Regions from separate parts of the Homo sapiens genome. Here all the other regions are linked to region 3. Evidence: promoter capture Hi-C in 16 types of primary human blood cells and fetal thymus (Javierre and others, 2016). All regions are on one chromosome and are shown on one strand. The core of a region is centred on a gene start or on the middle of the fragment in contact, and the rest is flanking DNA. Distances in the headings are between cores, read along the strand shown.

Region 1 (7,493 bases), core at 910-3,409, 490 kb after region 3:
GTGAGCCGAGATCGCGCCGCTGCACTTCAGCCTGGGCGACAGAGCGAGACTCCGTCTCAAAAAAAAAAAAAAAACTGTACAAATATTAACTCCTTTAATCCTTTCAACATTCCTAAGAAGTCGTGCTAATAGTAACAAGGTACTATCATTATTGTCTTAACTCATTCGGGCTGCTATAACAAGATACCTTAAACTATTAATTTATAAGCAACAGAAATTTGAGCCAGGTGTGGTGGCTTATGCTTGTAATCCCAGCAGCTCTGGAGGCTGCGGTGAGAGAACTGCTTGAGGCCAGGAGCAGTCTGGGCAACAAAGTGAGACGCATCTCTGAAAAACAAACAAAAACCACAGAAATTTATTGCTCACATTTCTGGAAGCTGGGAAGCCAGAAGATTTGGTGTTTGGTAAGGGCTTGCTCTCATAGATGGCACCTTCTAGCTGTGTCCTCACAGGGCAGAAGGAGTGGACAGGCTGCCTCAGGCCTCTTTCATAAGGGCACTCAATCTCATTCACAAGGTCTTCATCCTCATGAAGGCCTCAGTCACCTCCTAAAGGACCCACCTCTTAATACTTCGCATTGGGGACTAGATTTTTTTTTTTTTTTTTTGAGATGGAGTTTCGCTCTTGTTGCCCAGGCTGGAGTGCAATGGCATGATCTCGGCTCACCACAACCTCCGCCTCCCAGGTTTAAGCAATTCTCCTGCCTCAGCCTCCCGAGTAGCTGGGATTACAGGCATGTGCCACCGTGCCCGGCTAATTTTTTTGTATTTTTAGTAGAGACAGAGTATCTCCATGTTGGTCAGGCTGATCTCGAACTCCTGATCTCAGGTGATCCGCCCACCTCGGCCTCCCAAAGTGTTGGGATTACAGGCGTGAGCCACCGGACCCGGCCTGGGATTAGATTTCAACATATGAATTTGACGGGGAGAGGCACAAACATTAAGATCATAGCAATTACCATCTTTTTTTTCCTCAAAAGTAGGAACTATTATAATTTGCTTTGGGGATGAGGGAACTATTGCAAAGAGAGGTTGAATAACTTGCTCTAGGTTATATAGCCAGTAAGTACCAAAGCCAGGGCTTGAACCCAGACAATCTGGTTCCAGGGTTCGTGTTTGTCCCACCATGTTATGTTGCCTCTTAATAACATATACTAAAATACACTCACATTCCACACTAAATATATTTTTACAATTAAAAATTTAAAAGATTTCTTTTTTTTTTTTTTGAGACGGAGTCTTGTTCTGTCGCCCAGGCTGGAGTGCAGTGGTGCGATCCCTGCTCACTGCAAGCTCCGCCTCCTGGGTTCACTCCGTTCTCCTGCCTCATCCTCCCGAGTAGCTGGGACTACAGGTGCCCGCCACTACACCCGGCTAATTTTTTTGTGTTTTTAGTGGAGATGGGGTTTCACCCTGTTAGCCAGGATGGTCTCGATCTCCTGACCTCGTGATCCGCCCACCTCGGCCTCCCAAAGTGCTGGGATTACAAGCGTGAGCCACCGTGCCCGGCCCAAAAATTTAAAAGATTTCTAAGATTTTTTGCCGTTTAAAATCTTAAAAGGACGTTTATTCTTTTAAAGGATTGTTTGTCTATAAGAAACTCAGTGAATCTATGATTGGCTCTGATTTCTCAGCAATCACGATAAACATTTAGGAAATCCTGCAAAGTGAAAAAAAGCTTCAAATTGTTTTCCAATGTAATGAAAATTTAGGAACATGAAATTTAACAAAGAAATGGACTAATATTATGTTTTGTAGACATTTTTAAAAACGCTTTAATATTCATTACTTTAGATTTTTAAGTTTGCCTTTTGTATTTGGAAATCGGTACACTTTTTCATATCCCTAGCATTTCTGTAAGCATGGGGAATGCTTTTAGCCCTAAGCCCTGCATACTTAGGGAATAAATATACTCTCCTCAAGGACAACAGGGAAATAAACCCAGAAACCACATGCCATGCAAGAACAGCGGGGCTTTATGAGTCCTGGAGCTCAGGTGTCAGCCCACTCTGCTGCTCACTGTGTTCAGCACTCACTGGCCACAGTCCTGAAACATCAGCTCTTGGGGCGGTGGCATCAACTTCCTATCTCCCAGATCCCTGGGCCCAGGGAAGGGGAAGCTGATTACCCATAAATCAGGGTGCTCGGCCGGGCATGGTGGCTTAAGCCTGTAATCCCAGCACTTTGGGAGGCCGAGGCAGGTGGATTACCTGAGCTTGGGAGTTCACCACCAGCCTGGGTAACACGGTGAATCCCTGTCTCTACTAAAATACAAAAAATTAGCCGGGCATGGCGGCATGTGCCTGTAATCCCAGCTACTCGGGAGGCTGAGGCAGGCGAATTGCTTGAACCTGGGAGGCGGAGGTTGCAGTGAGCAGAGATTGCGCCACTGCACTCCAGCCTGGGTGACAGAATGAGACTCCATCTAAAAAAAAAAAAATCAGAGTCCTCTTTCTACGTACCCAGTTGATGAGATGCCCGAGGCCCCGCCTCACCTCTCTGTAGGCCTGTGCAGGTGTGATTTCCCTCCAGGTGAGACCATGACACCCGTCCCTCACAAATGTGTTTTAAACCAGAATCGGTCTCATTGCAAGGGACTCCTGATTGTGAATGGAGGAGAGAAAGATAGGATGAAAGCTTGAGATGGAGGTAGCTAAAGCTGGGTATGGCTCTTTGAATGGGATAGAGGGAAGGAACCCTAAAGAAGAGATGCTGCCCAGCATTTAAAACGTTTTGACAGTAGGGGAGAGGCAGGAGAAAGCTTTGCAGAGGAAATGGCATGGAGATGTGGGCAGGGGCAAAGGAGATTCATGGCCAACAAGAGGTACAGAAAGGAACGCACTGGGAGGGACAAGATCCACCTGCACAAGGACAGGAAGAGGCTTGTGTGGCATCCACTGCAGCCAGTTGCAGCCTCTTCAGCGTCTGGGCCCTTCTATGACTTTGGGACTTTCTCAGGGCTTAGCCCCCACGCGACTCCTCCCAGTGTTCACAAAGGCATTTCTGCCTTGGGGCAAGAAAACAGGCACCATTTGCTTACTGGGCCCCCAAAACTCTGCCTTGCATATGTCAGATCCTCCAAGATGTGTAATTTACATCCCTGCAGAAAACCTGTTATCTGACCTCCTGTCCCCTCCTGCCTTGGCTTCTGGTCCTGGTTGATATTCCTTGGGGAGGTAGAGACTCTGGCCAGGCAGGGCTGCTGCAGCCCTAAGGGCTGATGTGGGTTACCATGTCCACTAAGAGCCTGCATCCTTCAAGTCAGATGCCCAGGTCTCAGGCTGAGGCTGGGAAGGCAGACAAAGGGACCCAAAAAACTCAGGTAGCTGAGAGGTTGGTATAGCAGCAGGGAGATGACAAATATCACCTTCTGGCCCCTTCTGGTCTGACTGCCCCTCACAAATCCAGACAGGAGGGGCATAGTGACTTGGAGTAGAATTGGACTGGCGTAGAGATGAAAGGGTGGCTACCGGTGGCTAGAAAATGGGATGGAATGAAATGGATGGGAACCTACATTTGTAGGACGCCTGCCCTGTGCCTGGAGTTGTGCTGGGTCCTTCCCAAGCTTTACTTCACTGAAGTCTCACCAACAATCCTTTGAAGCATTGCCCCCTTTTTATAGATGCCTGGAAATGGTGGGAGTCGGAACTCAGGGACTGTGCTTTTAATAACTCACCAGGTCTGGCTGGGCACAGTGGCTCATGCCTGTAATCCCAGCACTTTGGGAGGCCGAGGTGGGTGGATCACGAGGTCAGGAGTTCGAGACCAGCCTGGCCAATATGGTGAAACCCCGTCTCTACTAAAAATACAAAAATTAGCCGGGCATGGTGGCGGGTGCCTGTAGTCGCAGCTACTCAGGAGGCTGAGGCAGGAGAATCGCTGGAACCCGGGAGGCGGAGGTTGTGGTAAGCCGAGATCGTGCCACTGCACTCCAGCCTGGGCGACAGAGGAGACTCCATCTCAAAAAAAAAAAAAAAAAAAAAAAAAAATCACCAGGTCCGATTGGATTCTCATTCCTATTCTAATAATCCATTTTAGTTGGGCTTACACAGTTTTAGGATATTTTTGGCCTTCTTGCATCTGAAGCCTTTAAGAAAATTTCCACCTTATTATTATTAGTTTTTTTTTTGAGATGGAGTCTCACCCCATCATCCAGGCTGGAATGCAGTGGCGCGATCTCAGCTCACTGCAACCTCTGCCTCCCTGGTTCAAGCGATTCTCCCACCTCAGCCTCCCAAGTAGCTGGGATTACAGATGCGTGCCACCACATTTGGATAATTTTTGTACTTTTAGTAGAGGTGGGGTTTTGCGATATTGGCCAGGCTGGTCTCAAACTCCTGACCTCAGGTGATCCACCTGCCTCGGCCTCCCAAAGTGCTGGGATTACAGGCGTGAGCCACCGCGTGCCCAGGCCCACCTTATTATTTTTGAAGGGAGGCAGAACCCATCTGTCTATAGACACTGAAAGCACTAGGTTCTCACTCTTCCTGCCACCCCTTCCAGCTAGGATGAAAGCACGTGGCCTAGGTTCCGGTGGTCAGGATCACTGGACTTAGATTTGAGGGCCCAGAAGCAGAGAACACGTCCGAGGAGCAGCAGCTGTTTCCAGGCCCAGTGGTCACAGAGGGCTGCCAGCAGCGACATCTAGTGTCCTGTGGTGATAACAGCGGCTTTAGCAACCCATTATAGGCTCGTGGCCTCTGCTTCTGCCAATCTTGGCTCTGTAGGTTTCTTGGTGATTTTGTGAACTACGCAGTATCCTGTAATAAATCATTTCTTTCCTTAAATAAGTCAGAGTTAGTGCCCATGGCTTACGACTCACAACTTTGATACAGATGTTGGCCAAAGTCCCAGACTGTTAATAGAATATGCCAGGTAAGACACATTTAGGCTGGGCACGGTGGCTCACGCCTGTAATCCTAACACTTTGGGAGGCTGAGGTGGGCGGACCACCTGAGGTCAGGAGTTTGAGACCAGCCTGGCCAACATGGTGAAACCCCATCTCTACTAAAAATACAAAAATTAGCCAGGCATGGTGGCGGGCACCTGTAATCCCAGCTACTTGGGAGGCTGAGGAAGGAGAATCACTTGAACCCGGGAGGCAGAGGTTGCAGTGAGCCAAGATCACACCATTGCACTCCAGCCTGGGCAACAGAGCGAGACTCCGTCTCAAAAAAACAAAACAAAACAAAATAAAACACGTTTGGAGATTTAGACACAGACCAGGTGCAGAGCCTTTAGCTGGGCACTTTCCCCTACTGTCCCTGATCCCCTGTCCTGGATTCTGGGCTGTCCAGAGAGACCCAGGAATCAGGTCCTCCAGACCCCCAACATGTAATAGGGTGGGAAGGGGATGGTGACGACAGAGGGAAGGGATGAGGCCTGGATTGGAAAAGGCACTGGAGACAGATTTGGTAGAGGGTATAAGAAAGGAGTAATGTAAACACAAAAATTAGCCGGACGTGGTGGTGAGCTCTTATAATCCCAGCTACTTGGGAGGCTGAGGCAGGAGAATTGCTTGAACCTGGGAGGTGGAGGTTGCAGTGAGCCGAGATCATGCCACTGCACTCCAACCTGGGTGACAGAGTGAGACTCTGTCTCAAAAAAAGAAAGAAAGAAAGAAAGAGAAAGAAAGAAGAGTAATGTGAGGTAGGATTCCCAGCCCATCCAAGGCCTTGGCTCCAATCCAGCTCCAGCCTTAGCTCTGTCTCATCTGTGCCCCCTCAACCCTATTACCAGCTTCCCCACAGCCTCAGACTCAGCAAAGTCCTACCGCAGTCTCAGTCCCCACACAAGGAAGGCTCAGGAGACTCGGCTCCATCTCCCTTCTTCCAGTTGATATGGTCGTCCAAGCAGACTTGTTCCCGATACACAAGGAGCCCCTGGCCTCCTGCTTCAATGACCCACTCCCCATTTCAGAGCATCTCAGCGACGTGCTACCTGGCCCTGAGCCACAAACCCTGACCTTTGTGTCCTTATCCCCTCTGCAGGTCGTGTGCTTCTCCCACTTTTCCAGGCCCTGGTGTGGGCTTTAGATCTACGCTGACTTTCCACGGCCTGGTCTCTGGGTGATCCAGGGAAGAGGGCATTCTGGGGGGTGAGGGGTGAGAGGCAGCTCTATTAGGTCTTAGAAACCCAGGCCAGGCGCAGTGGCTCATGCCTGTAATCCCAGCAATTTGGGAGGCTGAGGCAGGCGGATCACTGGAGGTTGGGAGTTCGAGACCAGCCTGACCAACATGGAGAAACCCCATCTCTACTAAAAATACAAAATTAGTCAGGCGTGGTGGCACATGCCTGTAATCCCAGCTACTTGGGAGGCTGAGGCAGGAGAATCGCTTGAACCCGGGAGGCTGAGATTGTGGTGAGCCGAGATCATGCCATTGCATTCCAGCCTGGGCAACAAGAGTGAAAATCAGTCTCAAAAAACAACCCAAGATCAGCTGAGCCAAGCAGTGTAGAGCCTCATATTTCTGAGCACCCCAAATAGAGGAATGTTTCCTGTGGGTAACGCCACTCACTCTTGCCTGCCCGCCTCCCTCCCTGTCCACCTTCTGCAGCGGGAGCCCCTTGGTGGGGGTGCTGGGAAATAGAGGGGCTTAGTTCAGGGCTTCCCTGAGGCTGCAGACTCCAGAGGCCCCGAGAACCTCCGGCAGGAGTTCCCATGAAAAAGCCCCAGAGCAGTTTTAGAGTTTGCAAACATGGACGCATTCCCAGATCCTGTGGTCCCCAAAGCAAATGATGTGCCATGCTTGACACTCTTTTACGATCTCCCTATAGACTTCATCTAGCTCAGCATCTGCTTTGAGGGCTGTCCCCACATGGGCAGGCCTTCGTGGTTTGGTCCATCTGCGACTCTTTCCTGTACCACTGCTGCATTCTGTGGAGCACCAGGCACGGAGTCCACTCATTCAATGACTCCTTTGTTCAATGTTTCTCTCATTCAGTGATTCATCACTCACCTTTGGCATCTTTGTGTGTGAGAATTCCAGAAATCGGGCTGGGCACAGTGGCTCACGCCTGTAATCCCAGCACTTTGGGAGGCCGAGGCGGGCAGATCACGAGGTTAGGAGATCGAGACCATCCTGGCTAACACAGTGAAACCCCGTCTCTACTAAAAATACAAAAAATTAGCCGGGCGTGGTGGTGGGTGCCTGTAGTCCCAGCTACTCGGGAGGCTGAGGCAGGAGAATGGCCTGAACCCGGGAGGCCGAGCTTGCAGTGAGCCGAGATTGTGCCACTGCACTCCAGCCTGGGCAACAGAGAGAGACTCGGTCTCAAAAACAAAACAAAACAAAACAAAAACAAACAAACAAACAAAAAAAGTAGAATGAAAAATTCTGCATGAATTTTTAACATAAAACAAGATATTTCAAAGAAATTTCCCACATGCAAAAGGCGAACTCTCCTTGCGCCTCTGATTGTGGCATGACTCATCTCTCCTCTGTATTCAGCTTCCATTATTAGTGAGTATTAGTGAGTGCTACTTCATTGGAC
Region 2 (7,095 bases), core at 4,483-6,982, 430 kb after region 3:
ACTCATGTTCTTTATGGTGACTTGCATTTCCAAGGCCAGGTTCTGGAATTTCACCAGTTTGCATTATAAGAAAAAAAGTCAGCCTGTAGGCAAAAAATACAGAAAAAGCTGAATAAGATTTTCTTTCCTAATAATGAAAAAGGCTTATACTGAGATGTTCTTCTACATGTGTTGTTTTTGGATAATTTCCTCACTTTCTGGGGTAATTCCTCACATGGGAGTAGGAGATAAATAGTCTGAGAACTGGAATATCTGACAGTTCTGTAGCCTCCCCTCTCGTGCCATGGATCATTTGAGTCTACAATTCTAGGTTGAAAAAAATTTTCCTTGGAAGTTTGAAGGCATCATCCTGTTGTCTCTTCGTGTTCAATATAACAGCTGAAAAATGAAATCCATTCTGATTCTTGTTTCTTTGTAGGTGATTTACTCCCACCCCTGGTAGTTTTTGGAATTTTCTGTTTATCCCTGGTATTCTGAAATTTCATGGTGACACGCTTTGGGTCATTTTTGAATGAATGTGCTCGGCTGGGCTATTACTAGAATACCTAAATCTGGAGACTTATCCTTTTTAATTCTAAGTACCAGCCTTGTATTCTTTCTTTCATCTTTTTCTTCCTTTTCTTCCTCTTATTTATCTTCTAGAACTTCTATTAATTGGATGTTGGTTCTTTGAACATATTGTTTGTGTTATTTGGGGAGGTTTTATGGGGCTAATAAAAAAAAGAACCCTATCTTTTCCTCTTAAGTTTGAAATCAATTGAGAGCCAAGACACAGTAGACAGATGAGCGGATATCAAAATGTTAGCATAATTACTGATAAGCAACAAGGAGGATTTGACTTAAAACCTTAGATCAAAAAACCTTGTAATTAGTTCATCCAATAATTAAGCAGATGTATCCACCCAGTCACAGGCAGAGGAGGGCAAAGCAGGAGCAGCTCTGTGCCGCCTGGCAGAGAGTAGAATACAAGGTGTGCTTCTTGTGGGCAGAAAGACACCAAAGGGAGCCCCCCCAAGGGGCGGAGCCAAGCATGCCAATCAGTCAGTTTCCTCCCCTGAGGAAGAGTGGGTTAAGAAGGGGAGTCTGGGCGGGGCGCGGTGGCTCATGCCTGTAATCCCAGCGCTTTGGGAGGCCGAAGCGTGCGGATCACTTGAGGTCAGGAGTTCGAGACGAGCCTGGCCAACATGGTGAAACCCCATCTCTGCTAAAAATACAAAAATTAGCTGGGTGTGGTGGTGAGTGCCTGTAATCCCAGCTACTCAGGCGGCTGAGGCAGAAGAATCACTTGAACCCGGGAGGCGGAGGTTGCAGTGAGCCGAGATCGCGGCCACCGCACTCTAGCCTGGGCAACAAGAAGGAAACTCTGTCTCAAAAAAAAAAAGAAAGAAAGAAAAAAAAGAGAGAAAGGGAGTCTGGAGATTGTCTAGTTTCCCTAGTGGGAAATATATTCAGTAGCATGAGACCAGAGAAAAAATAATTTCTCCCAATTTAACTTTTATCATTTAAAAAAAAAAAACCTATGTCTTTTTTTTTTCCTGGAAGATTTTCTAAATTTTATGTTTCAGAGCTTCTATTAATTTTTCTGGAGTTAACAACATGTATATATTTTTTAACTTTCAAAAGGTCTCGTTTTCTGAACAAGTAGAACATACAGGAAATTCTGGCTTATCAACAAAGTGAATTCAGGAAAGCCAATAGAAAAACTGGTAAAGGATATGAAAAGGCAATTCATGCAGGAGGAAACCCAAATGATTAATAAATCGATGAAGAAATGTTCAAACCCACTGTTAGCCAGAAATGCAAAATAAAAGAACAAGGATATGGCATCAGCTTGGCAACAATTGCGATGTTAATAATATCAAGCGACAAAGCCAAAAAGAGAACCCTCGTATACTGCTGGTGGGAGTGTGAACTGGCAGAGCCATTCTGGAAAACAGTCTGGCAGTCCTGAGTGGAATTAGGTATGGCAATACTCTGCGAATGAGCAATACCATTCGGGGATATAGTTTCCTTCCTTCCTTCCTTCCTTCCTTCCTTCCTTCCTTCCTTCCTTCCTTCCTTCCTTCCTTCCTCCCTCCTTTCCTTCGTTTCTCTTTTCTTTTCTTTCATTCCTTTTTTTTTTTTTTTTTTTTTTTTGAGAAAGGGTCTTGCTGTTGCCCAGGCTGGAATGCTGTGGTGCGATCATAGTTCACTGCAGCCTTGAACTCCTGGCCTCAAGTGATCCTCCCAACTCCAGCTTCCCAAGGTGTTGGGATTACAGGCCTGAGCCACCATACCTGGCCTGGATACAGTTTCAAGAGAAATTCTCACCTAGGTCCACATGGGAACACGATGAGGACATCAGTCGTCATGTTAATTGTGATAGTTGTTGGCAACAACCTGAGTTCATTATTAGGGGAAATAAACTGTGATGGATACACACCATTGAATACTGTGCAGCAGTTCATAGCAACAAACCAGATAAACAAATAGCAATGTAACAATCCATTGTAACAAATAGCAATACAAATAGCTCTAAAAAATTTCTTGTTGAGTGAAAAAGATCAGAAACAAATGAGATATATGAAAGTTCTGTGTATGTAAATACAGAACAGATAGACATGCAAACCCCATCACATATTTTATAAGGGTACCTACATATTTAGTAATATATATTGTTTCAGCTATCTACCGATGCATAATAAACCACCCCAAAGCTCCAGTGGCTTAAACCAACTGTTTTTTCTTAAGATTCTCTGGGTCAGAAATTTGGGCAGGGCTAGGCTGGGCGGTCCACGGGGTATTGGTTGGAGTGAAACACTTGGATACAATCAGCTGGTGACTGGGCTGCCCTGGAAACTCCCAGAAGACTTTGCTCACATGTCTGGGGCCTCAGTGCACCTCTGTGTGGCCTCTTTCTCTCTCCATGTGCTGTCTTATCCCCCAGGACTCTCTCTGGCAGGATAGTTGGACTTCCTCATAGCATGGTGACTGACTTCCAAGATTGAAAACTGAAGCTACCAGGTTTCTTGAGGTCCAGGCCCAGAACTGGCAGAGTGTCATTTCTAGTGCTTTCTGTTGGTCAAGGCAAGTCACAGGGCCAGCCCAGACTCAAGGGGAGGGGAAACAGACTCTACCCCTGGCTGAGTGGTGTGACTTGCACATGTGGTGAGGGGAGAAATTGATGGGCACCATCTGTGGGGACTGTCAGGGCACTCAGACTTCTGGCTGCCTATAGAGAGTAGAGAGTATAGAATTAGTGAGGGGAAACAGGATGGGAGCTAGGGAAGAACGAAACAGGACAAAGGTTTAGCTCAGACCTCTGAGGAAGACCTAGTGTCATGAAGTAAGGAATATGACCAATCTAACCTTTGTGTCTGAGGTACAAATAAACCCCAAATCAAAATCAACCAAATAAGGCCGGGCGCGATGGCTCACGCCTATAATCCCAGCACTTTGGGAGTTTGAGATGGGCGGATCACCTGAGGTCAGGAGTTCAAGACCAGCCTGGCCAACATGGTGAAAATACAAATAATTAGCCGGGCGTGGTGGTGCATGCCTGTAATCCCAGCTACTCAGGAGGCTGAGGCAGGAGAATCACTTGAACCCGGGAGGTGGAGGTTGCAGTGAGCTGAGATCGCGCCATTGCATTCCAGCCTGGGTGACAAGAGTGAAACTCTGTCTCAAAAAAAAAAAAAAAAAAAATCAATCAAAGAAAATAGGATTCCATAACCCAAAACAGAAAACCTCCAACAATATGGAAACTTCAGAAATAGTCCAAGTACATGTTAACTTCTAAGTTAAAATGATTTTCAAATAGGGAGAAAGAGAAGGACGCAGATGAGTCTGGCTTTCTCTGTCCCTTCTCTCCCTGTAGTGCCGTGAGTGGGGGTGTAAGTGACAAGCCCTGAAACGTGGAATTGGTTCAGTCAAAGGGGTGGCCAATGAGGATGGCCCCATCCCTGGTTGGCAGTTGGCAAAGCTTGACATGCAGTAGACAATCCATCTGTGAAGCTCTTACCTGTATCTCAGGACTAAATCCACATGCCCCTTAAGATGGGGGCTTCACAGCAGTGTTGTTCAGACTTTGAGTTGTGACCCATTAATGGACTGGGAAACTCAACAGAAGGCACGTAGTAAGGTGAGCATTGTCCCATCAAACTTTAGTGTCAACCGTGTATTTCCAAACGCATTATTCTATTCACTCACTCACTCAGTAGATACTTGTTGAGCAGCTACTGTGTGGCAGGCACTGGGGATCCAGGAGAAAGTAACACATACAAATGCACCTGTGTGTGCGGGTGCTTGTGTGTATGTTCTGGATCACAGCATGAAATTCGTCTCTCGCTGTGGGCTGCAGTCAGAGAGCCCAGCGGCTGCTGCTGCCTGGTGGCTGGGTGGGAATGTCAGGGTACTGGGGGGGTGGCTACTTCCCATGTGGGTCAGCAAGTTACAAGAACAGAAAAGGCCTCTGTTTGAATTCCTTTTCGGCACCCGGGGAAACGAGCAGCTTTATAAGAAACCCTGCCCGTAGCCATCCGCCCAAGTTTGGTGAGGGTCAGAAAATCATGCACAAAAACTGTGTTTTCTTTCCCGAGCTATTGTTAGCGCAAGTGTAGACAGTCAGCCACGTTCCTTGCTTCATGGAAGCCAGTCTTCCTCGTAGGACCATGAAGACCTTTTCTTTTCTTTTTCTTTCTTTCTTTTTTTTTTCTTTGAGATGGAGTTTCTCTCTTGTTGCCCAGGCTGGAGTGCAATGGCGCAATCTTGGCTAATGCAACCTCCGCCTCCCAGGTTCAATCGATTCTCCTGCCTCAGCGTCCTGAGTAGCTGGGATTACAGGCCCCTGCCACCACGCCCGGCTAATTTTTGTATTTTAGTAGAGACAGAGTTTCACCATGTTGGCCAGGCTGGTCTCGAACTCCTGACCTCAGGTGATCCACCCACGTCGGCTTCCCAAAATGCTGGGATTACAGGCGTGAGCCACCGTGCCCGGCCAGACCTTTTGTTATGATGTTATTTTCCCCTCTTTACTCCATTTTGCTTTGCCAGTTTCTCTACTCACCTGGGCCACCACCTAGAGCAAGTTGCCTCATCTCTCCGAGGCTCCGCTTCCGAACCCTGTGAAATGGGAGTAACAGAAGTCCTGCCTCGTGGGGGTGTTGTGCTGTGATAAATGAAGAAACACCTTGGAGAATTTAGGGCAGTGGCTGGGCCTGAGGACAGTGTTTGTGTTGCCTGGGCTGGGGCAGGGTCTGGGCCGGACGGGGCTCTCTGAGGTTGGATTCCTCCTGCGAGGAGAGCTGTTTTTCTGCAAAGCCCCTTCCTCCTCCTGCTGAAGCTTCTGGATTTGAGAGGCTTTACTCTCCAGGAGAGTGAAGCGAGTTGGGCCAGAGCTGAGAGTCTGGTGGCCGAGCCCACAGGAAGCTGGGGTCTGTGGTTCAGATGCCGGATTGGGCAAGAGTAGAGAACTGGTCGCTGTGATCCTGGTCAGGGATATTTGGAGACACCCACAGTTCTGGTAAATTCGGAGGCAGGAAGTGAGAGGGGGAGGGAGAGAGGGAAACGGCAAACTGCACCCCAGCCCCTCCTGGCCTGGCACCCCTTCCAAATGGTGCAATGAGTGGGGTGAGTGGCGTGTGGAGTTGAGCGCAGCCCAGGGGACCCCCCTCTCTGGGAATAAGAACAGAGATAGCCCCGTCCCCTGCCCCCACCCCACAAATGAGTTACAGCTCTGTTTCCTCTTCTGTTTACTGTCCAAAGTCCCAGGCCAGGAGGTGCCAGGTTAGAGCTTGGACACTCAGACCCTCCAGTGCAGGCCTTGCCCGGACCAGCCCCTCCTCCACTCTCCTCTCCCCTGTGAGCTCCACCTGCCCCAGTTCTCCTGGCTTTAACCCCTCCTTGGCCAAGGCCAGGGTTGCCTGCGGGAGCCAGGTGTCCGCTCTCCACACCTTTCACAGGTAACTGAGGCTGGGGAGGCAACTGGGACGAGGATGCTTGGGAACAAGGAGGCCTTGGTTCAGGGATGGGGAGGACCCCATGGGAAGCTGTGGGTGGTCGGGTCCATGAGCGTGGGGAGGGGTCTCCTGGCCAGGTCAAGGCCCAAGCGGTCTCCTGAGAAGGGAAAGGACCCAGCGGGATTTCAAACCTCATCCCAAACGCCCTGCCAACCTCAGATCCTACCCAGGCCACCACCCCGAACCCCTCCGACCCTGCGTTCCATCCCACCATCAACCTCCACGTGAATCTGCACCTCTGCCCCAGCCCCAGCCCTCAGAGCAACCTCAGCCCAGCCCAGCCCAGCTCCAGCTCCAGCTCCAGCCCGGGCCCCATCATGGCCAAGGACTTTCAAGATATCCAGCAGCTGAGCTCGGAGGAAAATGACCATCCTTTCCATCAAGGTGAGGGGCCAGGCACTCGCAGGCTGAATCCCAGGAGAGGAAATCCATTTTTGAAAGGCAAGTGTGCAGTTTCTGCGGCTTTGCTCCCCCTCTGTCTCAGCTCATGATTGCTCTGTCCCTTTGAGGTCTCTGCCGCACCCACTCTGTGAACAGGGACTGAGGAGGGCCCGACACCCCCGCTTGTTCCCTCACCTCACCTTCCTGTCTACCCCAGGACCCCAGGAAAGGCATGTGCCAGAGGTGTGGGGAGATCTGGAAGATAACTGCCTGCCCTTCTCCTCCCAACCCAAGAACACATGTGCCTCGTATGTGCGTGTGCACGTATGTGCATATGAGGAATGCAGATTCAGCTGGGACTCTGTGTGTGTGTGTGAGTGAATGTTGTGTGTGTGTATATGTGCGCGAGAGCGTGCATATGTTGTGTGTGTGTATGTCGTGTATGTGAGAGGGTATGTTGTGTGTGAGAGTGTGTTGTGTGTGTATGTTGTGTGAGTATATGTTGTGTGTATCTTGTGTGTGAGTGTATGTTGTGTGTTGTGTGTGTATCTTGTGCATGTGTGTATGTTGTGCGAGTGTATGTTGTGTATGTGAGTGTGTGTATGTTGTGTGTATGTTGTGTGTATGTATGTTGTGTATGAGTGTGTGTATGTTGTGTGTGTGTACGTTGTGTATGTTGTGTGTGTGTTGTGTGTGTGTATTGTGTGAGTGTATGTAT
Region 3 (6,662 bases), core at 3,890-6,389:
AGTGGTCTATACAGAGGGGAGGAAGGCTGATCTGGGCATGAAGAGTAGGGAGGGCAGAGAAGAGAGGGCATTCCTAGCTACGAAGCCAGCCTAAGCAAAGGCTGCTTGTAGCCTAAGGGCATGGTGTGCCCAGGAGCACGGAGGGCTTGCCTGGTATATCACTTGTCTCCAGCCACAAACCTCACCTGGACATTCCGTCCTGCCTGGCAATCTTACATTCCCCCACGAAGCTTGCTTTCATAATCAGCAAGTTGAGATTTTGTACCATTTCTCCTCAAATCTCCTGTCTCCATCTCCCTAGTTGTCCAGAGGACCTAGAAGTCATCGAGCAAAGGTTCCCTCATCTCCCCCCAGCAAATCTACAAACCCACCTGGTCTCTTGTTCTCCTTTGACCCTCTGGTAATGGTGGGAGATGTGTCCTCTCTTCTTTCTGGAAACTTCCCTCTCCCCTTTTTGGATGTGGCCCCTGCATGGACCCCTCACCCCTGCACCAGCCACCTCGCCTTTCATGCAGACCATGTCCAGTACACAGGCACATTCTAGCTGGGTTCAAATCTTGGCTCCACCACTTAGTATCTCATGGCCTCAGACAAGTTGTGTAACCTCCATCTGTAAAATGGAGGTAATTAGAGTATCTTCCTTTTAGGGCTGTTGTGAGGATTAGATAAGACCAAACACAAGTGCCAGACACAGTGCCTATCTCAAGAAAGCCCTCAGTACATGTTAGATCAGATGAAAATAGTATTGTTCACAGAACTAAACTTTTCCTTGGTCCACACACCCCTCCACCTACTGGCCTATTTCTCTGCTCCTTGTTACAGAGAAACTTCTAAAAAGGGTTGTCCTAGGCCGGGTGCAGTGGCTCATGCTTGTAATCCCAGCACTTTGGGAGGCCGAAGCGGGTGGAACACCTGAGGTCGGGAGTTTGAGACCAGCCTGACCAACATGGAGAAACCCTGTCTCTACTAAAAATACAAAATTAGCCAGGCGTGGTGGCGCATGCCTGTAATCTCAGCTACTGGGGAGGCTGAGGCAGGAGAATTGCTTGAACCCGGGAGGTGGAGGTTACGGTCAGCCGAGATCGTGCCATTGCACTGGATCCAGCCTGGGTGACAAGAGTGAAACTCTGTCACAAAAAAAAAAAAAAAAAAAAAAAAAAAAAAAAAAAAAAAGGTTGTCCCTGCCTCCAGTTCCTTATTTCTCATTTTCTTCTCAACCCAATGCACACTGCCTTCCTGTTCTAACTATGCCACTGAAACCACCCTCTTTAAGGTCAGCAGGACTTTCACGTTACCAAACCCAGCCATCATTTCTCTGTTCTCATTTCATGTGATCTCTCAGCTGCATTCAACACAGACAGCCACATCCTCCTTGAAACAGTGGTTTCTCCGAATCCAGGATGCCACCCTCCCTGGGTTTCTTCCTCTCTCTCCAGCTTCTTTTCAGTCTCTGCTGGTTTTCCCCTCAGCTCCACTTCAAGATGCCCAAGAGTCTCAGGGCTTCATTCGTGGGGCCCTTCTTTCTCCTGGCGTCTCACCCAATCCTGTGGCTTTAAATGCCATCGATAGGCCGGGCACAAGGGCTCACACCTGTAATCCCAGCACTTTGGGAGGCTGAGGCTGGCGGATCACCTGAGATCAGGAGTTCAAGACCAGCCTGGCCAACACGGTGAAACCCTGTCTCTACTAAAAAATACAAAAATGAGCTGGGTGTGGTGGCACCCGCCTATAATCTCAGCTACTTGGGAGGCTGAGACAGGAGAATCGCTTGGACCCAGGAGGCAGATGTTGCAGTGAGCCAAGATCGAACCACTGCACTCCAGCCTGGGTGACAGAGCGAGACTCTGTCTCAAAAAAAAAAAAAAAAAAGCCATCCATATGGCCATGACTCCTGGCTTTATCCGTCCTGACCTAGCCTAAGCTAGTCGACAATGTCCAGCCATCCATTTCTGGAATTTACTTTATTGTCATTTATCCGCTTGTTTATTTTAGACTTCTCAACGTTAATAATTATCTTACATACTTCCCAACCTATTTATTCCTTGGTCAATCCCTTCTTAGGAAATGGCATCATTCTTCCCAGAGATACCCAAGTTAAAAATCTAGAAGCTGGCTGGGTGCAGTGGCTCATGCCTGTAATCCCAGCACTTTGGTAGGCCGAGGCGGGCAGATCACTGGAGGTCAAGAGTTTGAGACCAGCCTGGAAAACATGGCAAAACCCCATCTCTACTAAAAATACAAAAATTAGCCAGGCGTGGTGGCACACGCCTGTAATCCCAGCTACTTGGAAGGCTGAGACGGGAATCTCTTGAACCTGGGAGGCAGAGGTTGCAGTAAGCCGAGATTGCACCACTGCACTCCAGCCTGGGTGACAGAGCGAGACTGTCTTAAAAAAAATAAAAAATCTAGAAGTCATCTGTGATTCCTCCCTTTCTTTTATTCTTCACCTCCAACCCATAAGTCAGTAATATCTTCAGGACACAGGCTGAACCCATCCACTTCTCACCATCTCTGCTGTGAACCCCTCGGCTGAGCACTCCTCATGCCTCCCTGCCTCTCACAGTGGAAAGACATTCTGGTGAGGGGGATGGTATGTGCAAAGTCCAGAAGAGGCACACCGGGAGCAGGGGTGTCAGCGCAGCAAACATGAAGACAGCATAAGAGTGCAGGGAAATTAGGTTGAGACCAGACCACGAAGAGACTGGAAGCCATGTAGAGAGCCAATACCACAAGAAAAGTGAAGTTTAGGGGCTCAGCATGGCAGCACAGGTCAGATGGAGTGGAGGGGTAGGGAGGGTGTGGAGTGGGGAAGCAGCAAGAGGCTGGATTTGAGGTTCTGAGGTCACGGTGCTGAGGTAGAGGGTGGGGTAGAAATGGAAAAGATGAGCAGACACTAGCAGCATTTAGAGAAAAAGATCATCAGAACGTGGAATATGGAGGAGACAGAAGAAAAAAGAATGAAAAGTGCTTCTTGGAGAAGAATGAGGGCTGAAGGAGAGAGCTGGGACAGTGATTTGCTGGGGGAACTGGGCAGAGTTCTGGGGAAGAGTAGGGGTCTTTCATGGGGTCCCACGCCTGGGTCACAGAGAGAACCAAGACCTTCATGAACTGGCTTCTGTGGTTCTGAGACTGATGGCCGGGAAGGGAGTGGGAGGTCAAAGGTTTTCAAGGGCCCTTTTCCCAGGAGGCCAGTGCTGTGTCGGGGGATGGGGTCTCACCTGCCTGCGCTCCGTCCTGTCCAGGTCGTGGATGAACTGTAAAGTACAGGAAAAGGCTGGTGAGACCTGCCCTGACCCTCTGCCACCTGCCCCTCTCCTCCTGGGTATGGCTCACCCATCACCCACCTTCATAATGGGCTGCGATCGCTCTTCGAGCCCGTGTTTTCCGGCCTTTAGGTGCTGAGGATCAAGGAAAGACAGATGAGCAAAGCGGGCCCTAGTGGGGGTCCCAGAGCAACTCTCCCAGCCCCATTCCCCTCTCAGGAACCCTGGCATCCTTATTCTTGTCCAGACTCCTGGCCTTAGAATCTCAGGCCTCATCTTCCTCAGTAAGTAGAGTGACTATAATTTGTCATCCACACTGGGATACTGCTGAGAGCAAAACGGGAAGCTGCTATTAATCACACCGAGATAACAGGTGGGGGCCAGGACAACTGCATGCCGACTTGGACACGTGGTCATCCGGCCACCCCATCATCCCATTCCTAAGTCTCTTTGCCTACCGGGGCCCAGGCCTCTGACTGCCAGGCCTAGTCTCCATCAGGATCCCAGTAGTTCTTCTAACTCATGGCCACCCTGCCTTCCTGTTTGGGGTAGGGTCTGAAGGAGCACATCCATATGACAGAAGGAGCTTCAGAGGAGGGCGAGAATCCCTAGGTTTGAGTCTTGGCTGGTTAGCTGCATGACTCTGAACTCCTTTCACCCTCCGTGCCTCAGTTTCTCCCTGTGGATAATGGTTTTTGCTCTGCCCGCTTCCTGAGGTTGGGATAGAGGGATGCTCACCACTTCTGCGAGGCCGAACTAGTCGGTTCAGGAAAGGCGCAGGATCCTGGCTTTCTTCTGTCTGGGGATTCAGTTCCTAGGGGAATTAGGGCAGGGTTCAACCACAGACTCCCAGAGATATAAAGTGAGACATACGGGGCCTGTCAGGAGAGCCACCAGCCAGCAATAGACACAGAAGTCAGGGACAGATTAAGCCCCTCAGCCAACTACAGCTGGGGCCCCGGGCAAAGGTGAAGCTGGGAGTCAGGCCCCAGTCCTCACCCTTTCCTCTAGACCAGCTACACTTTCCCACCCACACACACAACCAACGCAGACCCTGCATTCAATTGGCACATTGCACACATGCCCGCACCCAGTCACCACGCACAGAGGATACACACCCTGTACACAACCGCACCCCTCTTCCACGCAGACTCACATATCTTATACAACCACGTCACCCCCAGCCAATAAACACCTCAGACTCAGGTGGCACAACCCCAGCACAAACCCCTCACACAGAGTTGTCACCACGCACACACACCCCTGCAGACACGCACCCATGCACGCACTGTGTTCACACACACCCTGCACACACCTCGAGTACGGCTGGCACAGCTGCACACACCTGCAGCCTCGGCTGTGCACACTTCCCATGCCCCAGCAGCCTGCAGACCGCGCCCACGCCCACTCACCGACGGGTCCTGGTCCTCCTCTGCCACCAGCTCCTCCTGGGCAGGCTCCTGCTGGGAAGGAGGGAGCGTCACCCTGTGCCGCTCCACCTGACATCTCACCCTCCACCCATCCTCCCTTCCCCTTGCCTTCAGCCCACGCGGCCCCCAGCGGCCCCTCTGCAGTCTCAGCTCCTGATGTGCCCAAGAAGGGGTGCGCAGCGGGGCCTCACCTGGGCGGACAGCGATGCCCGGCTCCCCAAACTGACCACGGCCAGCAGGAGGCCGAGGCAGGCCAGCGCCAGGCCCAGGCCCAGCGCGAGCGGGACCAGCAGGGCGGTGCCCGGCTCCCCCCGGCGCCCCCTCCGCCTCTGGCTCCGACGGGCGGCCATGGGGGCGGGGGGCTGTGCCTGCCTCACCGCCCCCCCATCCCGGGACCCGAGGGATCGGGGGAGGGGGAGCCGGCGGGCGGATCGGGCCGGGGAGAGGGAGGGGCAAGGGAAACGGGGCGGGAGGGGGCGCTGGGGACAGGAAGCCGGACGCTGTGTGTGATCAAACTCCGAGCCTCTCGCCGGGCGCTGTGCGCGCAGCGAACGGAGTGGGCGCCCACCCGACCTCTGAGCGCCCAGCCCGGGCGTGCACCACCAGGGCGAGGTCCGTTGCGTGCGGCCGCGGGAGCGACGGGGCTATGCGTGTGCGGGCACCTCCTGCGGGGAGGTGGGGAACTCAGGAAGGCCTGTTGGTTCAGATTCTTCTGTGTCCCTGTGTCTTCAGAGATAAGGACCCTCCTTTCCCCCAGGTGCAGGGAGGGCGCCTCTCGCAGGAGGCTGTTATTTGCTTCTTCAGGAAAAGGGCAGGGAGTTCCAGGTTGTATGACCTGGTTCAGGGAAGAAGGGCAGGAGAAGGTAAGAAAGATCCTTCGGCTTCTGCGGTTTTCTCAAATTCCTTCAGCTTAAAACACTCACTGTGCCGGTAGCACGTTCTGAAGCCCATCATTACCAATGATTGCCAAGCATCTGAGGAGGACCAGCAGCATGCAAAAGAAACACCAAAATTGGTCCGGCAGGTGGCTTACGCCTGTAATCCCAGAAGGCCAAGGCTGGGGGCCAGGAGTTCAAGATCAGCCTGGGCAAGAGCAAGACCCCATCTCTACAGAAAAGTTTTAAAAAATTAGCCCACGCCTGTAGTCCCAGCTACTCAGGAGGCCGAGGTAGGAGGATTGTTTGAGCCCAGGAGTTTGAGGCTGCAGTGAGCTGTGATTGCACCACTACACTCCAGCCTGGGCAACAGACCTTGTCTCAAAAAGAAAGAAAGAAAGGAAGAAAGAAAGAAAGGAGGGAGGGAGGGAGGGAGGGAAGGAGGGAAGGAAGGAAGGAAGGAAGGAAGGAAGGAAGGAAGGAAGGAAGGACCAAAATTGGCTGGGCGCGATGGTTCACGCCTGTAATCGCAGCACTTTGGGAGGCTGAGGCGGGTGGATCACGAGGTCAGGAGATCGAGACCTGCCTGGCCAAGATGGTGAAACCCTGTCTCTAATAAAAATACAAAAAAATTAGCCGGACGTGGTGGCAGGCGCCTGTAGTTCCCAGCTACTCGGGAAGCTGAGGCAGAGAATTGCTTGAACCCAGGAGACAGAGGTTGCAGAGAGCTGAGATCACGCCACCACACTCCAGCCTGGGCAACACAGCAAGACCCTATCTCAAAAAAAAAAAAAAAGAAAGAAAGACCAAAATTAACAAACAAAATTTGACATTGGAGGAAACAGAGATAATTCAGGATACAAAGAGTACTACCTAATATACTTAAAGAGAGTCAAGAAAAAGCATCCATAGAGCTGGGCATGGTGGTGCATGCCTGTAGTCCCAGCTACTCAGGAGGTTGAGATGGGAGGATCACCTGAGCCTGGGAGGTTGAGGCTGCAGTGAGCTGTGATCACACCACTGCATTCCAACACGAGCAACAGAGTAAGACCCTGTCAAAAAAAAAAAAAAAAAAAAGAGTATGCAAAGAAAGA
Region 4 (7,706 bases), core at 4,344-6,843, 410 kb after region 3:
GGTATGTAGGCTTTTTCATCTTTGTAGCTATCTTATTTAGGAATAAAATGGGAGGAATAAAAAGGCAAACCTTTGCCTGACTTTTCCTTTGGCTTAGTGATTTTGGGATCCTGAGATTGCGGGTTTTTTTTTTTTTTTTTTTTTTGAGACGAAGTCGCCCAGGCTGGAGTGCAGAGGTGTGTGAAGTCGCCCAGGCTGGAGTGCAGAGGTGTGCGGCTCAATGCAACCTCCGTCTCCTGGGTCCAAGCGATTATCCTGCCTCAGCCTCTAGAGTAGCTGGGATTACAGGCGTGAGCCACCACGCCCAGCCAGTCTTTGTAGTTTTAGCAGGGATGGGGTTTCACCATGTTGGCCAGTCTGGTCCTGAACTCCTGACCTCAGGTGATCCGCCAGCCTTGGCCTCCCAAAGTGCTGGGATTTAAGGAGTGCGCCACTGTGCCTGGCCCCGAGATTTATTTTCCTTTCACAGATCTAACGACTGGAGTTCTTGTCCTTTATTTTGTTTAGAAACAAAATAAAGATTCTTCAATGTCCCTCAAGAGGATGGTGCTCAGCTGAGCAATACGGTTTGTTGTTCAAGGGAGGTGCTAAATCCTTCAATACACACATCACTTAGGTACACTAAATTATTAATTGTATTTTTTATTGCAAATATTTAATGACCTAAAAATACAGAGGGTAATACTCCCACTGGTGAGATGAAAACTTAGCTTTGTTTTGGGAGCAAATAAACTCTTCATTATCAGCACTTTCTGGGGTTGGGGAAGTGCAGGTTGCCTGTTTAAAAACAAATTAACTTGTTACAAACGATTAAAACAAAAATTACATACCAGAGGTACAACCTATGCAGACAAACATTAACAACAAATCTACGGAGAGAGGTTGTGTATGTGTGGGGGTGGGGGGGGTGGGGTAGGGAGTATATGGGAAATCTTTGTGCCTTTATTTATTTATTTATTATTTATTTATTGAGACAGGGTCTTGCTCTGTTGCCCAGGCTGGAGTGCAGTGGTACAATCGTGGCTCACTTTAGCCTCGAGCTCCTGGGCTCAAGTGATCTTCCTGCCGCAGACTCCTGAGTGACTGGGACTGAGACAGGAGTTTGTCAGGACAGGTTTTGCAAGGTACAGGTCACGAGGACCCCGCTGCTGAAACAAGATGCGGTACATAAGTGGATCGAAGCCCGCCAAAACCAAGATGACAACTGAAGTGACCTCTGGTTGTCCTCACTATTCACGATACACTCATTATAACAAATGAGCATGCTAAAAGACACGCCCACCAGCGCCAGGACAGTTTACAAACGCCATGGCAACACTTGGAAGTTACCCTATGTGGTCTGAAAGCGGGGGGAACCCTCAGTTCCAGGAATGGCTGCTCCTTTCCGGAAAACCTCATGAATAACCCACCCCTTGTTTAGCATAAGATCAAGAAATAATACTCCATTTGAAAAATAAATGAATTAAAAAAAGAAATAAGCATAAAAATAGCCAACTAGTGGCCCTTGGAGCTGCTCTGCCTATGGAGTAGGCACTCTTTTCTCCCTTTACTTTCTTAGTAAACTTGCTTTCACTTTACTCTGTTGGCTCCCTCTGTTTTTTTTTTTTTTTTTTTTTTTTTGAGACAGAGTCTCTCACTATCACCCAAGCTGGAGTGCAGTGGCGCGATCTCGGCTCACTGCAACCTCCGCCTCCCGGGTTCAAGCGATTCTCCTGCCTCAGCCTCCCAAGTAGCTGGGATTACAGGTGCCTGCCACCACGCCCAGCTAATTTTTTGTATTTTTAGTAGAGATGGCGTTTCACCATGTTGGCCAGGCTGGTCTCAAACTCCTGACCTTGTCATTCGCCCGCCTCAGCCTCCCAAAGTGCTGGGATTACAGGCATGAGTCACCGCGCCCGGCCTTTTTTATTTTTTTATTTTTTTTGAGACAGAGTCTCATTGTGTTACCCAGGCTGGAGTGCAGTGGCACAATCTGGGCTCACTGCAACCTCCACCTCCCGGGTTCAAGCGATTCTCCTGCCTCAGCCTCCTGAGTAGCTGGGATTACAGGTGCGCACCACCACACCTGGCTAATTTTTGTATTTTTAGTAGAGACGGGGTTTCGCCATGTTGGCCAGGCTGGTCTCAAACCCCTGACCTCAGATGATCTGCCCACCTTGGCCTCCCAAAGTGCTGGAATTACAGGCTTGAGCTGTTGACTCCCTCTTGAGTTCCTTCCTGTGTAAAGCCAAGAACCCATGTGACCTCCTGGGCTGAGCCTCTAATTTTGGGGTCGCCCTGTGACAGGATTACAGGCATGTGCTACCACGCCTGGCTAATTTTTTTTTTTTGGAGGGAGAGGGGTCTCACTATGTTGCCCAGGCTGGTCTCGAGCTCCTGGGCTCAAGCCATTCTCCTGCCTCAGCCTCCCAAATTGCTGGGATTACTGGCAGGAGCCACTTTGATAGACCAGTATTTTTTTTGAAGGAGAATTAAAAAAAGAATTTATGTACAGAAAACTCAACAGTGGACGTTTAACCCAGTTTAGTGGCAAGTTCTTTAGCCTTTGCCTTTTGCAGTTTAGCAATGTCTGAGCCAGATTTTGGACCCAGGGCATTGCTGTAGCCACCCAACGGGTTCACCTTGCCTGCTGCCTAGACACAGCCGATTTATTAAGACAGGGAAATTGCAATGGAGAAAGAGCAATTCACGCAGAGCCGGCTGTGCGGGAGACCGGAGGCTTTTTCTTTTGAGATGGAGTTTCACTCTTGTTGCCCAGGCTGGAGTGCAATGGCGTGATCTCAGCTCACTGCAGCCTCCAACTCCCAGGTTCAAGAGATTCTCCTGCCTCAGCCTCTTGAGTGGCTGGGACTACAGGCGCGTGCCACCATGCCCAGCTAATTTTTGTATTTTTAGTAGAGACGGGGTTTCACCATGTTGGCCAGGATGGTCTCGATCTCTTGACCTCGTAATCCCCCCATCTCAGCCTCCCAAAGGGCTGTGATTACAGGCGTGAACCACCACGCGCGGCCTGTCAGGCCTCTGAGCCCAAGCTAAGGCATCACATCCCCTGTGACCTGCACGTATACATCCAGGTGGCCTGAAGCAACTGAAGATCCACAAAAAAAGTGAAAATAGCCTTAACTGATGACATTCCACCATTGTGATTTGTTTCTGCCCCACCCTGACTGATCAATGTGCTTTGCAATCTCTCCCAACCTTAAGAAGGTTCTTTGTAATCTCCCACAACCTTAAGAAGGTTCTTTGTAATCTCCCACAACCTTAAGAAGGTTCTTTGTAATTCTCCCCACCCATGTATACTTTGTGAGATCCACTCCCTGCCTGCAAAACATTGCTCCTAACTCCACCGCCTATCCCAACACCTGTAAGAGCTAGTGATAATCCCACCACTCTTTGCTGACTCTCTTTTCGGACTCAGCCCGCCTGCACGCAGGTGAAATAAATAGCCTTGTTGCTCACACAAAGCCTGTTCGGTGGGCTCTTCACTCGGACGCACGTGACACGGCCCAGAGTTTTACTATTTCTCAAATCAGTCTCCCAGCATTCAGAGATCAGAGTTTTTAAAGATAATTTGGCGGATAGGGGCTTGGGAAGTGAGGAGCGCTGACTGGTCAGGTTGGAGACGGAATCATAGGAGATCAAAGTGAGATTTTCTTGCTGTCTTCTGTTCCTGGGTGCGGTGGCAGAACTGGTTAGGTCAGATTATGAGTCTGGGTGGTGTCAGCTGATCTATCGAGTGCAGGGTCTGAAAAGTATCTCAAGTACTGATCTTAGGTTTTACAATAGTGATGTTATTCCCAGGAGCAATGTGGGGAAGTTCCGACTCTTAGAGTCAGAGTCTGCATGACCCCTAAACTACAATTTCTGATCTCGTAGCTAATCTGTTAGTCTTGCAAAGGCAGACTGGTCCCCAGGCAAGAAGAGTCTTTTCGGTTAAGGGCTATTATCAATTTTGTTTCAGAGTCAAACCACGAGCTGAATTCCTCCCCGAAGTTTGTTCAGCCCACGCCGAGGAATGGACAAGGACAGCTTAAAGGTTAGACGCAAGATGGAGTCGGTTAGGTCTGATTTCTTTCACTGTCATAATTTCCTCAGTTATAATTTTTGCAAAGGAGGTTCCATTGCCTCCCCAGTGACTGTGGATCTCGTCACACCTGCCATTGTAATCGGTCCTGATAGCTTCCGCCACCTTAGCCAGAGCTGCTTTGTCTTCCCAGTGAGCCTGTGTGAAGGTGACAGTCTTTTCTGGGGTCTTCCTGCAGACCAGGCATCTCCGTCCTGCCTTCCCCTGGATAACGCAGTAAGGGAACCCCACTGTAGGACACAGCGCAGACAGAGAGACAGCAAGCTCGACGAGAGTCACGTGCAGTCACCACCAGCTGAGGCTTCTTGTTCTCCACCAAGGTGCTGTCGGGGTTAACCCTGCTCGTGGGACAGTTGGGGTCTTCATGGAGATGCCCCCTTTGCCGGCAGCTTTCTTCTCTGCACGGGCCAATAGCCTCTGCTTCTTTTCTTGCCCTGTCTCTGGTCTGTACCATGGTCCAGCTGATGCAGTTGAGGAGCTGTTTTCTCGGTCCAAGGCCTGGATGAGTCGGTCACTTGCAGGAGGCACTTTCAGCTGCTCGTGGAGGTCAGCCGTTTGCCACTGCAACCAGATGTAGTTGGGCCATTCAACAATCAACAAAGCAGGTGAGGTCCCTTTTGGGCTGGATAGCCTGTTCAATGCCAGATTCTTAAGCCTTTTCTCAAATGCCGAAATTCTTTTTTTTTTTTTTTTTTTTTTGAGACGGAGTCTCACTCTGTTGCCCAGGCTGGAGTGCGGTGGCGCGATCTTGGCTCACTTCAACCTCTGCCTGCTGGGTTCAAGCAATGAGCAATGAGCCACTGTGCCCGGCCTCGACTGCCTTCTTATTTCTGCGATTGCCACCAGATGCTGCTGCTGCAAACAAGTCCCGCTCAGCCAGAGGCCACCCCTGCCGTGGCTGCGCTGTAGTCACCGTGGATCTGGCTATAGTTTGATGCAGTAATACGGGAGCTAAAAAGAAATTACTTAGGCAGTTGGTGAGGGTAAGAGAGTCCTCGGTAAGGCATCCCTTTTAACAAAAAGCAGCCCCCACATCATTTCTTTTCTAACAAAGAGCAGCCTGTAAAATCGAGCTGCAGACATTGACAGGCAAGCTGGAAGCTTGAACGGGTGAATGGCGGCAGCCGTGCCAATCGGAAAAGGCTACCTGGGGCCAGGCATGTTCAACATGGAGGCTTCATCTTCCCTTTTCCTTATCAACCACCTGTACAGTAAAGGAAGCAGCAACATGATGCCAACCAGGTAGAGAATCCATTTGCATAATAAAAGATTAGGGTGGGGCGGCCAGCTTCTTCTTGCACTATGTAAATGGCATACCTGGTCCCGCAATCTTTTGGGCTCTGTGTAAATCAGACACTGCCTGGCCGGGTGGGTGCGGCGGCTCTCGCCTATAATCCCAGCACTTTGGGAGGCTGAGCCGGGTGGATCACCTGATGTCAGGAGTTTGAGACCAGCCTGACCAACATGGTGAAACCCCGTCTCTACTAAAAATACAAAAATTAGCCGGGCGTGGTGTGCATGCCTGTAATTCCAGCTACTCGGGAGGCTGAGGCAGGAGAATCCCTTGAACCTGGGAGGCAGAGGTTGCGGTGAGCCGAGATCGTGCCACTGCACTCCAGCCTGGGCAACAAGAGCGAAACTCTGTCTCAAAAACAAAACAAAACAAAACAAGGCAAAACCTCCAAATCAGACACTGCCTCCTCAAGCTCACCTATAACACCCAGTGCATTTCACCTCGGAGCCAGAAGACCGACTTGGGAGCCCCTCCCTCTCTGCAGGAGAGAGAGCTTTTCTTTCTCTTGCCTATTAAACCTCTGCTCTTAAACTCACTCGTCGTGTGTGCCTGCATCCTCAATTTCCTTGGCATGAGACGATGAACCTTGGGTATTACCTCAGACAACGAGCTTCAAAAGCTTAATGGAACAGACCGTCTACCCCTGTTGTGCCCTGCTTAGCTCTGTCCCGGAAGCCACTAGGCACCTAGGCTGTGACAGTTTCAGTCTTTAACCCCCAATGACAGCTTGCTCAGGGCACACCCAGTCCCTCCTTAGTGCTGCTGAGCAACTGCACCGTGTCCTCGGGCTCCAGAGGAAAAAACACTTCAGTTCATAGCCCTGCTCAGCAGAGGTCCTCAAAGCACATCTTCTCAGCCTCTATCTGGTGAGGGGGCACCTTCAGCCTGTGCCAAACGCGGCTTCCCTCACAAACCCTACCAGGCCTTAGCACTGATACAGGATTCTAGGGACTGAATGTTTCTGTCCTCCCCACCCCGGATTCATAGGTGGAAGCCCTACTCCACAGTGTGATGATATTTGGAGGTGGGGCCTTTGGGAGATAATTACATTTAGATGAGGTTGTGAGGGTGGGGTCCCCACGATAGGATTTGTGCCCTTGTTGGAAGAGAAGGAGGCCAGAGTGTGCTCTCTCATCCACGTGAGGACACAGCAAGAAGGTGGCTGTCTGTAAACCAGGAAGTGAGCCCTCCCCAGACACTGGATCTGCCGGTACCTTCACCTTGGGCTTCCTAGCCTCCAGAACTGTGAGAAAGAAATGTTTTTTTTTTGTTTAAGCCATTCAGTCCGTGGTGTTTTGCAATGGCAGTGCAAGCTGACTAAGACACAGGGTCACTTGTTCTATTTCCTCTTCAGTCATGATGGGCTTCCCTCGGGCCCTTTGGTGCCTTTCCCCGTCAGTGGACTTCAGCTAGAGCCTCTGTTCATCACAGAGGTTCTAAGGACATTAGATCTCCAAAAGAAAGGGACTAGGGTCTCAAATTTCTTTGCTTCACAGAAGCTTTTTGGCCCCACCTTTCAGTGACCTGTCTGCAAACCAAAACTGGCAAAGAAGGGCAGTCTCCCCTGAGCCACTGGAGAAGTCCTGCCTCCCCTGCCTGGGGTAGGCGACGGCTGGCTTCCCACTTAAACAGTTAAGGGGAGCTGCTCAGTGCTTACAAAGTCATTTGCTAACTTGCCTAGACAAAGAAGTTATTAGTAACTTTTACATGTCAGCTTGGGTAAACAAAACAAGTTTAAGTTCCTGTAATCAGGCAGCATGTTTTTATTATTATTATTATTATTTTATTATTTGAGATGAAGTATTGCTCTGTCGCCCAGGCTGGAGTGCAGCGGTGCAATCTCGGCTCACCACAAGCTCCGCCTCTCAGGTGCACACCATTCTCCTGTCTCGGCCTCCGGAGTAGCTGGGACTACCGGCGTCCGCCACCACGCCCGGCTAATTTTTTTGTATTTTTAGTAGAGACGGGGTGTTTCACCGTGTTAGCCTGGATGGTCTCCATCTGCTGACTTCGTGATCTGCCCACCTCAGCCTCCCAAAGTGCTGGGATTACAGGCGTGAGCCACCGCGCCTGGCCACCATGTTTTATTATTAAAAGTTAATGGGGGCCGGGCATGGTGGCTCACGCCTGTAATCCCAGCACTTTGGGAGGTCGAAGCGGGCGCATCACCTGAGGTCAGGAGTTCGAGACCAGCCTGGCCAACGTGGTGAAACTCTGTCTCTACTAAAAACACCAAAATTAGCCGGGCATGGTGGTGGGTGCCTGTGGTCCCAGCTACTTGGAAGGCTGAGGGGGAAGAACTGCTTGCACTTGGAAAGCAGAGATTAC

Evidence for each region. Contacts are between HindIII fragments. The CHiCAGO score rates a contact against its expected background, and 5 or more counts as called.
Region 1: a fragment that was not itself captured here is called in contact with the fragment with the promoter of TNFSF12 in region 3 in 3 of 17 cell types (monocytes, M2 macrophages and total B cells); the score reaches 5.4 in monocytes.
Region 2: the fragment with the promoter of ASGR2 here is called in contact with the fragment with the promoter of TNFSF12 in region 3 in 1 of 17 cell types (monocytes); the score reaches 5.5 in monocytes.
Region 4: a fragment that was not itself captured here is called in contact with the fragment with the promoter of TNFSF12 in region 3 in 1 of 17 cell types (monocytes); the score reaches 5.9 in monocytes.

What each region holds. Positions count from the first base shown.
Region 1 is chr17:7,049,384-7,056,876 of GRCh38, reverse strand. No RefSeq gene overlaps it. Among named protein-coding and RNA genes, the nearest start is that of SLC16A11, 9.0 kb to the right of the region's middle. The HindIII fragment of the contact is 959 bases long and covers 1,680-2,638 here.
Region 2 is chr17:7,113,459-7,120,553 of GRCh38, reverse strand. ASGR2 (asialoglycoprotein receptor 2) reads left to right here and starts at 5,732. Exons shown (of 9, transcript NM_001201352.2): 1 at 5,732-5,939; 2 at 6,244-6,437. The coding sequence starts at 6,314. RefSeq lists an enhancer at 4,794-5,580. The HindIII fragment of the contact is 6,715 bases long and covers 5,323-7,095 here.
Region 3 is chr17:7,547,535-7,554,196 of GRCh38, reverse strand. TNFSF12 (TNF superfamily member 12) reads right to left here and starts at 5,139. Exons shown (of 7, transcript NM_003809.3): 1 at 4,885-5,139; 2 at 4,676-4,723; 3 at 4,002-4,077; 4 at 3,345-3,398; 5 at 3,219-3,254. The coding sequence starts at 5,043. TNFSF12-TNFSF13 (TNFSF12-TNFSF13 readthrough) reads right to left here and starts at 5,139. Exons shown (of 11, transcript NM_172089.4): 1 at 4,885-5,139; 2 at 4,676-4,723; 3 at 4,002-4,077; 4 at 3,345-3,398; 5 at 3,219-3,254. The coding sequence starts at 5,043. RefSeq lists silencers at 4,945-5,024, 5,055-5,244. The HindIII fragment of the contact is 9,939 bases long and covers 233-6,662 here.
Region 4 is chr17:7,138,007-7,145,712 of GRCh38, reverse strand. It overlaps LOC105371512 (a long non-coding RNA gene), which reads right to left. Exons shown (of 3, transcript XR_934191.3): 3 at 4,950-5,035. LOC124903910 (a long non-coding RNA gene) reads left to right here and starts at 3,089. Exons shown (of 2, transcript XR_007065600.1): 1 at 3,089-3,238; 2 at 3,270-3,464. It also overlaps the pseudogene RPL7AP64. The HindIII fragment of the contact is 812 bases long and covers 5,188-5,999 here.